Linked DNA regions of Homo sapiens: all the other regions are linked to region 1. The links are contacts of gene promoters, found by promoter capture Hi-C in blood cells and fetal thymus (Javierre and others, 2016). All regions are on one chromosome and are shown on one strand. The core of a region is centred on a gene start or on the middle of the fragment in contact, and the rest is flanking DNA. Distances in the headings are between cores, read along the strand shown.

Evidence for each region. Contacts are between HindIII fragments. The CHiCAGO score rates a contact against its expected background, and 5 or more counts as called.
Region 2: a contact is called between a fragment that was not itself captured here and the fragment with the promoter of TNFSF15 in region 1, in 2 of 17 cell types (M0 macrophages and neutrophils). The highest score is 5.0, in M0 macrophages.
Region 3: a contact is called between a fragment that was not itself captured here and the fragment with the promoter of TNFSF15 in region 1, in 1 of 17 cell types (total B cells). The highest score is 5.2, in total B cells.

The regions. Positions count from the first base shown.
Region 1 is chr9:114,804,471-114,807,693 of GRCh38, reverse strand. TNFSF15 (TNF superfamily member 15) reads left to right here and starts at 1,655. Exons shown (of 4, transcript NM_005118.4): 1 at 1,655-1,891. The coding sequence starts at 1,682. The HindIII fragment of the contact is 3,139 bases long and covers 1,436-3,223 here.
Region 2 is chr9:114,414,563-114,417,785 of GRCh38, reverse strand. The region is part of intron 7 of WHRN (whirlin); the gene reads left to right. Among named protein-coding and RNA genes, the nearest start is that of AKNA, 28 kb to the right of the region's middle. The HindIII fragment of the contact is 3,286 bases long and covers 93-3,223 here.
Region 3 is chr9:114,430,687-114,433,909 of GRCh38, reverse strand. The region is part of intron 3 of WHRN (whirlin); the gene reads left to right. Among named protein-coding and RNA genes, the nearest start is that of AKNA, 44 kb to the right of the region's middle. The HindIII fragment of the contact is 2,686 bases long and covers 238-2,923 here.

The DNA of each region.
Region 1 (3,223 bases), core at 406-2,905:
TACAATAGCAGAGATTTAGGTTAGTCTCAAAGACATTTTTTAATAGATTTGTTAAACCAAGAATGAGTAGCCATGGGACATGAAAATCATCCTTTGCTAGAATGAGCATAGGAGCATAGTGATATGAAGGAAGAGGACTGGACACTTCCATTTTGCAACAGTACAGCTAGTCAATAGTGTATCCAGGGAACTGCAGCTTGGGAAAGTAGTAAAAGTTGAGGCTGGACACTGGGGACGGGTGACAGTGAGCAGGGACCAAGCCATGAAAGGCCTTTCCAAGTAGCCTGAAGAGTCCAGGCTGTGACATAACCAGAAGTAGCAACTGGATGGAGGCGCTAGTAAAACTGGTTTCTGCCGTACATCACAGGCCATTCCTTAAACTTTCCTATTATTTCTAGAACCCATCTTTTCCCAGGGTCCTTTACTTTCCTCTGAGATCAACCCTCCCTGAGCTCTAAGGCCGAGTTCCAACACCACCTCTTTCTCCAGGAAGCCCCCTCAACCCCCTCACTGCAGGGTCTTACCCACTCCTGGGTAAAGACAGTGCAGGTATTTATGAACATGCATGATCCAGCAGTACCTATGGTGAAGTGTGATGGTGAAGAAGCCAGCAGCCAGCCTGCCTGAGTCCCAATCCTGGCTCTACCACTTGCCGTCTGTGCTTTATTTTCTTATGTGTAAAATGAGAATGATAGCTTTATTGTCACAAAATTTATCTCAGGATTGAATAATTTTATTGATGTATTTAACTTAGAGCAGTGATTGGCACAAAGTAAGCACTTAATAAATATAATCTTTTATTACATGTTGTGGCCCCCACACCCAACTGCAGGCAAAGCACATCACATGATCAATTAACTTTAGACTAATCAGGGAGTAGTGGTTAATGTTCTACCCTCACAGACAGTCACCTCGATCTGTGGCCTCATACTCTGATTAAACAATGGTCAATGCAGACTGGAAATACTTTCCTTTCATGGGCAGTCATGTGCTAGAGGTTACAACTCCAAGCCGTGATTTAGAACTAGGTCATCTTCCTAGCTCCTCTGTCTTCATCCTTGGATGACCTAGGACAAGTGCCTTCACCTTTTAGAACTTTGCTATTCCCATCTGTACACTGAGAATGAATTTCTATGAGGTTCAAAATGACAGAGGGCTAGGCAGCACTTTGCAAAGAGCTGATGCAAATGTGATTTCCGTTTCCCAATCTGCAAACCACACACCTCTCATCCCTCACTTTCACTTCCAGAAGCACACTCCCCAGACTGGCACAGCTGGTAAGCCTCCAGTGCAGGGAACAGGTATATTTTAATTTGCCCCACCCACTGACTTGATGAATTCTTTCTCTCCTCCTTCAGGGACTTTCCTAACTTCCTTCTGTAAACGAAGGAAGGAGCACATGAGCATACTGTATATAAATATGCTTGGGAAAGCTTTCTTCTTCTCCTTCTTCTTCTTTTTTTTTTTTTTTTTTTTTTCCTCAAACCAAACTTGGTTTCTGTTGTAGGCGGTGCATTCTCTAGCAGGGTAGGGCCACAGTGTGCTCTTGAAGAGGGGAGGGGAGAGGAAAAGGGAAGGAGGAGACTGAGTGATTAAGTCACCCACTGTGAGAGCTGGTCTTCTATTTAATGGGGGCTCTCTCTGCCCAGGAGTCAGAGGTGCCTCCAGGAGCAGCAGGAGCATGGCCGAGGATCTGGGACTGAGCTTTGGGGAAACAGCCAGTGTGGAAATGCTGCCAGAGCACGGCAGCTGCAGGCCCAAGGCCAGGAGCAGCAGCGCACGCTGGGCTCTCACCTGCTGCCTGGTGTTGCTCCCCTTCCTTGCAGGACTCACCACATACCTGCTTGTCAGCCAGCTCCGGGCCCAGGGAGAGGCCTGTGTGCAGTTCCAGGTAAGCCACATGGCACTCTGACCTTGGGGAGGAGCAGTGGACTCTCTGCAGTGAGTGGCAACTATTTCAGCTCTGGACAGAGGATAGAGTTTCTTGATGTATCACATTTCTTGTTTCTACATGCAGAGGAAATGTAGAGTGGGAGGGGTGGAGAGGTTCAATTTGGTGTTTATTCTCAATATTTCTAGGGAATGAACAGTCCCTTCTTTTACTGTGGGGATAACCTTCAGCCTCATATTTTTTAGATAATTATAATCATAGTATACTGGTAATTTGGGAAGATTCTTTTTATTTAAGAAAAAAACTTAAAATTACATAACTAACACGGTCATTGAAAAAAGTTAGAAAATACAGATAAGGAGAGGAAGAAAGTCATCATTACCCATAACTCTTATAGCTGACCACTGTTAACAGTTTGGGATATATAATTCTGTACAGAATTATATGCCAGATATAAAACGGATTTTTTAATGAGACGAGATTATTCTGAGTCTGCTAATATATTATGATTTTATTTATATGCTAATGAATTCACAACAACATGATGCTATAGATACACATTCCTATATGTGGATGCTATAATTTCTTTACCCACTCTTTTTCTTGGGTTTAGAACTTTTTCTCTTTTTAGAGCTTAAGAAAGAACCTCCTGCCTGGTTGTCTATCTCTAAGGTCTTGCTGAGGCCTGGGAGAAGCCTAGTCAGAAAAAGAATATGAAGTCTAGGGAGAACAATGGTAGGGGCAGCGATAGGTGTCAAGAAGAAAACATAATTCTTGGCTGGGAACAACAAAGATGTACCTCAAAACCTAAGGAATGAGTCTTTCCAGTAATATCCTTTTTAAAAATGTCCCTTCATAATCTATGGTGGCTGATTTCATTTCAGTTCAAAGTATTAAATTGCAAAGGGAAAAAAATGGGTTTTCAATGGGTTTAACTGGAAACCTAGCCTCTAAGCAATCCTGGCCAGTTTCAAAGCATAGACACCACAAGTAAGCCATGGAAAATCTGTAATTCTCGCTGCCCCATCAGGGTCAACAAACAGACTGTGATTCAGGCAGCAGCGTTCATGGCCAGATGCCATTGCTCATAAAATGTAGAAATATGCAGACAAACCGGAAATGCTGTTTATGTTAAAGAAGAACCGCAGGTCATGGGAAGTCAGACTTTGACCCTTTGACCACCAAGGGGCCAGTTTCTGCTGGAAGTCAAACTGCAGCGCCCAGTTGGTGCTCTGGGACTCTGTCCCTCTTTAGCCAGAAGGAGATAGTTGTCCTTGAATGAGACACTGAGTGGCCTCCAGAAACCTGCACTGGGGTCTGAAGGAAGCCCAG
Region 2 (3,223 bases), core at 486-2,985, 390 kb after region 1:
ATTCCTCCAGAGAGAGAAAGAGCTTGAAATAATCACCTTTATTCACCACTAAGTGCCGCTGTGTGGTCTACAACACCACATATTAGTAAGCTTTTGCTGCAGTAATGCTGAGTAATAACCCTAAAATGTGGACAACAACCCAAAACATAACATGGCCAAAATCCCTTCCTGCATGGAGCTCACACACTCCTCATACCTCTGCTAAATCACTTGTCACATTGCTTTAACCTCTTCGTGGGTTTCCCTTCCCCAATAAACAGCGAGAGCTGGTGCAAAATGGAGGCCCAGAAAGTGTGGAACAGAAACTGGAAGGAAAGCACACACTCCCCGGCCACTTGCAGGATTATCTTCTACTATGCGGCCTTCTAAACATTCGCCTCCCACATGGTAGGAAAATGTTCTTTGTTCTAGTGTTCAGTTGGGCAAGATGACATCAGGTGGCTGGCTATCGATGACCGAGATGCCCCAGACACTGGCCCCAAATGGAGCCAGTTTCCATTTAGCCTGAATTCCTCGGATCATGCTGTGTGGTTATTGATCCCAGGTTAAATGTGGCTCATTCTGCAGCCATTTCCCCTCAAAGCAGACACAGTCAATCAAAGGAAATCAGATCCAGCTTTCCCCCATTCACAAACTGTGTTGATTTTCCATTTGTCTAACAGAGAGCCAGCCCTGAGCATTTTATGCTGCCTTCACACAATATCATTTCCCCCATAAAGATGTTGGCCGAGAGAGCAGAGTGAAAGAAGAAAGGCCTGCCTGTTATTTCTTGAATTCTTCATCTAGTGCCAGCATGCCTGTGGCAGAGGGGCTTAATTGCACAGATTCTGGGATCCTACCAGCTGGGTTCTGCTTTCCAGAGTAGTAGCTTTGTCACCTTGGGCAGATGACTTGTGTCTTCTGGGCCTCCATTTCTGCATCTGTACGGTGGGCTGATAAGACCAGCTGTCTGGGTTGTTCTGAAGATTCAGTGAGATCAGGAGTGGATATGCAGGTGTGGAGTGTGGAGGAGCCCATTCTGTTTCTACTCCAAAGGTTGGAAAAGGGCCCTGTATTAATCCGTTCTCACACTACTGTAAGAAACTGCCTGAGACTGGGAAATTTATGAAGAAAAGAGGTTTAATTGACCCACAGTTCTGTAGGCCGTACAGGAAGCATGGCTGGGGAGGCCTCGGGAAACTTAAAATTATGGTGGAAGTTTGAAGGGGAAGCAGGCACATCTTACATGGCTGGAGGAGGAGGAAGAGAAGGGGGAAGTCCTGTACACTTTTAAGCAACCAGATCACATGAGAACTTACTCACTATCACGAGAACAGCAAAAGGGAAATCTGCTCGCATGATCCGATCACCTCCCACCAGATTCCTCCCCCAACACTGGGGATTACAATTCAACATGAGATTTGGGTGAGGATACATAGCCAAAGCATTTCAGGCACTGCAGAGCATTGTAGAGAAAAGGGGATTGGAGAGGTCAAGGCCAGCCTTGTACTCAAGGAGCAAATGCCCTTGAGGTCAGGTGGCAGCAGCTGGGATTTGCCCTGGACTTGACCTCAGGCTTTTTCCACCTGGATTTGAGAGAGTTTGTGCTCCAGCCCTGTCATATGCCTGGAAGGAGGCTCCCAGCCCCTGCCCAAGGATGCTGGGGACAGGATCCCTGCCCCTGAAGGCCTTACTGTCCTTCTTCCCTCCTCTTGTCCCCCAAAAAGAAGGTGAATAGGGGGCAGTAGATGTGGCTGTCAGTGCTTCTCTGCATTGGCCTCCTTCTGTGGCCTCTGTGCCTCCCTCCTTGTCTGCAGCACAGTGAACTGGGAGAAGCTCAGGCTTGTCTCAGGCCCCTCCAGCTGCAGGGACCCCTCACTGTCAAACCAGCTTTTTTTTTTCAGAAACAAGTAGAAAACTGTCAAAGGGCCTTATTTTTCCTCCTGCATCCTGACTTTGGTCCAACCTGGATGGTTTAGAGAATCGTTCTCCATCCATGAGCGGGGTAAGAGAGGAACTCCATGTATTCCTTCAGTCATGCGTTCAGCCACTCCTTCTTCTATGCAGCAGCCTTTGTGGAGCATCTCCTGCCTGCCAGGGGCTGAGCCTGTGCTCTTGAAGCTGATCAAGTCCAGTGGAGGAGGCTACCTCAACTCAAATCATCTCCATAACTCACACTCTGATAAAGCGGGCTGAAGGGTGGTGTGAGAACATACATGGGCCCCGACCAGTCTGGGGTACTTGGGGAGAGAGGTTGAAGCTAAGATCTGAAGTTGTTGGCTACAGCCAGGCAATAGATGAGGTGAGACAGCTGAGGAGCTGGTGGGGCATGTCTGAGGGCCCTGAGCAGGTTGGCACATGGCCACTCAGAAGAATGGAAGGAGACCAGTAGGGCTGGAGTGTCAGGAGTGAGGGGTAGAGGGGCGAGGGTCAGGAGCGGGAGGCGTTTGTGTTTAACCCTAAAACCATGGGATACTCTGGAGAATCTTGAGTAAGGATGTGATGTGATCCTGTTTGTGTTTTTTTTTTTTTTAAGAGATAGGGTCTCTGTTGGGGTAGCTCACTACAGCCTTGAACTCCTGGGCTTAAGTGGTCCTCCCACCTCAGCCTCCTGAGTAACTGGGGCCACAGGCGCACATGCTCCCATGCACAGCTAATTTTTACATTTTTTTGTAGTGATGGGGGTCTCACTATGTTGCCCAAGCTGGTCTCAAACTTCTGGCCTCAAGGGATCCTCCCGCCTTGGCCTCTCAAAGTGCTAGGATTACAGGTGTGAGCCACAGCACCCAGCCCTCTGTTTACATTTTTTAAGCTGCCTCTTCTGTGTGGAGAGAGCCCAGAGGTGCAAGGTGGATGCGGGTGACCAGGAGAGGCTGTTGTTCCTGTCCAGATGACCTCCTGTCCCCCACCCCAGGAAGCTGCTGAGTGCCCAGAGAGGGCATATCGAGGATGATAGGTGTCTTCTCCTTGAGTAGAAGAGCCCACTCCATCCCAGGGAGGCCTCAGCATGTGCCCCCTGCACCTTCCAGAATCATCAGTTTGCCCAGAGGCATTAAAGCCTCTCAGGCCGGCCACAGCTTTACCTGGAGCCTGAATAGGACCATTCCTCTCAGCCAGTGCTTTGCTGTCTCTGTAGCGGTTTATGGAACACCTGCCTTCCCCTGTGACAACTTGGGATTGCTGGAAGCTCTTTCCACCAAACAGAGCCAAGCCCATGGAGGTCAGAGCCTGTTTGAACATGGGC
Region 3 (3,223 bases), core at 331-2,830, 370 kb after region 1:
AATGTCAGAAGAGAGAACCGGAAGGAAGCATAGACCATATTGGGAGTCAGTGTGCATTAGCCTTGCCGGGTCCATCCACAGCATTTCTGGTTAGGTTCTGCCTTGTGAGAGCTCTAAACCAGAGAGGGTTGGGTGAAGAGCTCACCCAGACCCAGCCCATACCCTGAGCTTGCTCCAGGAACTGTCTTAGCAATTACCTGCATCTTTTTATTTTCTTTTTCAAAATATGGACAAGCTTTACTGACTTTTGAACTGTTGGGAAAAACTAATGTCTCATTAAAACTGTATTGCTTACTTGTAATGAAAGAAAAAAAAACAGCCCATTAAAGTTTTACACCTGACATGGAAAACTATTAAAGATTCATAATTGCAATAAAACTCTTTAATAGAATTTGAATTTTCCTTGTGATAATGCTGTAGCCAACAGGGACCTCCCTTGAAGCCGCAAGATCCATTTTAACACAGGCTTGGGAGGGTGCTGAAGGCAACTCTGAAATCGGCTTCTTTCGGGCCCTTCCCAGCGTGGCTGGTACAGGTGCACGCGCGGCCTGAGAGGATGGATTCCCGTCTCCCAGCTCAGCCTCGGGATCAGGTTGTTGGCAGCCTTCTCTCCTAACAACTTCTGGCGAGGGAGCTCGAAGCTACTGCCATTCCGCCACAGGTTCTTCCTGCCAGTTCCCTTCATCGGGCACGAATACAGCACCTACTGAGTGCATGGCCTAAAGCCCAGGGCTGGGAGGGGTAAGAAGTAGAGGAAGGGCAGGCTGGCTTTTCTTAAAGGAGAGTGTGGTATTGGTTCGTGCAGGGGCCTTGCTGGCTGGTAGAATGAAGGCCAGATCCCAGCTCTTAATGACTCTACTTCCCGTCCTCGGCTTCCTCATCTGTAAAATGGGATTAAAATATGAGTTTCATGGGTGTGGTCAATGTGTGTAGGTCAGTGGAAGCCAGAGGCAGGGCCCTGGGGAAGGTAGGTGGAAAGGTAGAGGGTGGCGCTGAGAGACACCCTGGAGGTAGAATTGCTAGATTTGGTTGGTGAGTGATCAACAGGTGAATTCAGGGATAAGCATGGCTTTCAAAAATGCATTTATTGCATTTATGGCCCCATGGAGACCCATGCAGTTACTGTATGTTAGCTACTTGTTTATGTGCTTTATACTTGTTCATTCAGTAAATATTTATTGAGCACCTACTATGTGCCAGACCCTGTTTTAAGTGTTGGTGATACACTGGGGAATGTATTAACTCATTTGTCAACCAGGTACTGATATGATCTCTATTTTCCAGAGGAGGTAACAGGCACAGAGAAGTGAAGTCAATTACCCAAGGTCATACAGCAAGTAAGTGACAGAGTGTAGAATTAGTCAGAGACTCCTGGGTCTGTGCTCAGAAACACACACCAGATGGCCACTGGTGTACTTTGCACAACACACTAGCTGTTAGTGGTCTTGTTCCCATTTTGGGAAGGAAGGCTTAGAACAATGAAATTATTTTCCTCAGGTCTCTTGGAGAGTAAGAGGGCTCCGTTAACCCAGCAAGGTCCACTGAGTGTTTCCGCTGTTACGAGGGTCCCCTCTCCTCCTGGGGCTCCTGCGCCTGCCCCAGACCTAAGGGAATTGAATTCTCTGCTTACTGGTGGTTGGCCAATTTCAGGGAAATCGGTATCCTGCCCTTATTGAAGCCCCGCCGTGCTCTTCTCAAAGTGTCTGAACATGAGCCAGTCACTCAGTGGGCTGTGGATGATGGAGGAGTCTTTCCTCTGCCTTAAAATGAAGGGCATTCCATGGTCCACCCTCCACTCCTCCATCAGTGGTGACAAATAGGATTCCCATGGTGACAAATAAAATAAAGCTGCCTTTATTCGTTTATCTTTCCTTGTCCTCCCCATCAGTGCCCTGCAAGCAAGCTGAGCAATATTAGACACTCGATCACACTTGGCACCTGTCTCTCCTATCTCCAGCACGTCCTGTCCCAGTGAGCTCTGGTGGAGGGATATGAGTGTTTCCACGGTTAGCTGTGGGTCTGGGCTTTGCTGTTGCCTTGCTCTGTGGCCCTAGACATGTTCCTGTCCTTTCTGAGCCTTGGATTCTGCATCTATAAGAGACGCCTTGGAAGGCCCCGATGGATACAGCATCTTTGCCTCTATTTTCTGCTTTATTTTCCTGTGCCGTCTAACTCTGAGTTGGTTTCAGTGGGTAGGAAAAAGCCACATTGCAATGAACAAACAAACAGAGCTCTTAGTTTTCTTTGGGAAAGAGTGAGAGTAAGATCTTTAAACATGCTGCCTCCAAATTCACTCACACCAACTGACGGGAAAGGGGAAACAAACAGAAGTGAGAACAAGAGAGGAGGAAGGCCGGGTCCCCCCATCCATTCACTATTTCCTAAGCATCTCCCGCATGCCAGTGCTGTGCTGGGGTGAAGGTGGCATAGGCTGGTAGGAAGAAGATGAGAAGATTAGGCTCAAAGGCTGGTTCATTTGTTTACTTCCAGTACGACCAGTGACCTTGAGCAAGTCCCTCAACATCTCTGAACCTGTCTCCTGTATCTGGAAGAGAAGCACATGAGAAGCCATGGAAAGCCTGATGTGTCTCAGGCTCTGTGCAGGGTGGTTCCATTTGATTCTCACAGCTACCTGGGAACTAGTGGTAGTATCATGCCCATCTTATAGATGACAAAACTGAGACTCAGGTTGTACTTGAGAGCTGTGCGGGGCCACTCAGCTACTATGTCACGGTTGCCTGGCTTTAAAACTAGAGGCTGCAATGTAGGGATGGGACTCCACACTCCACTGGCCACACGGGGTGACACTAGGACACTAGCAGCAGAGAAGACACCAGACTTGGTTGAAAGTGGTTTGTGGACTCTACATCACAGTGATCGTGTAGACAGCTCTTCTGACAGGGCTCCTAGACCTGGGGAAGCTTTCCAACAAGTAGAGGAAAAGGGAGAGAGCTGGACACAGAAAAATGGGAGCCACTCAAAACCAACTCACATGCTGCGGAGGGCCCTGTGGAGACCCTGAAGCCAGTCCTACCTAGCACTTTGGTTTGAACACAGGCTCTGGAGGAAGAAGAGACAGGAGAGGATTGAAAAGAGATTGGGAAGATGGGCTTACACGTCCCCAGTAAGTCAGGGTTTCCCAAGTGTGACTCCCATTTCACAGCCGTTCCCCAGGCAGATTGCACAGGAATCTATGCTGCCTCTTCAAATCTGGTAGGGATAT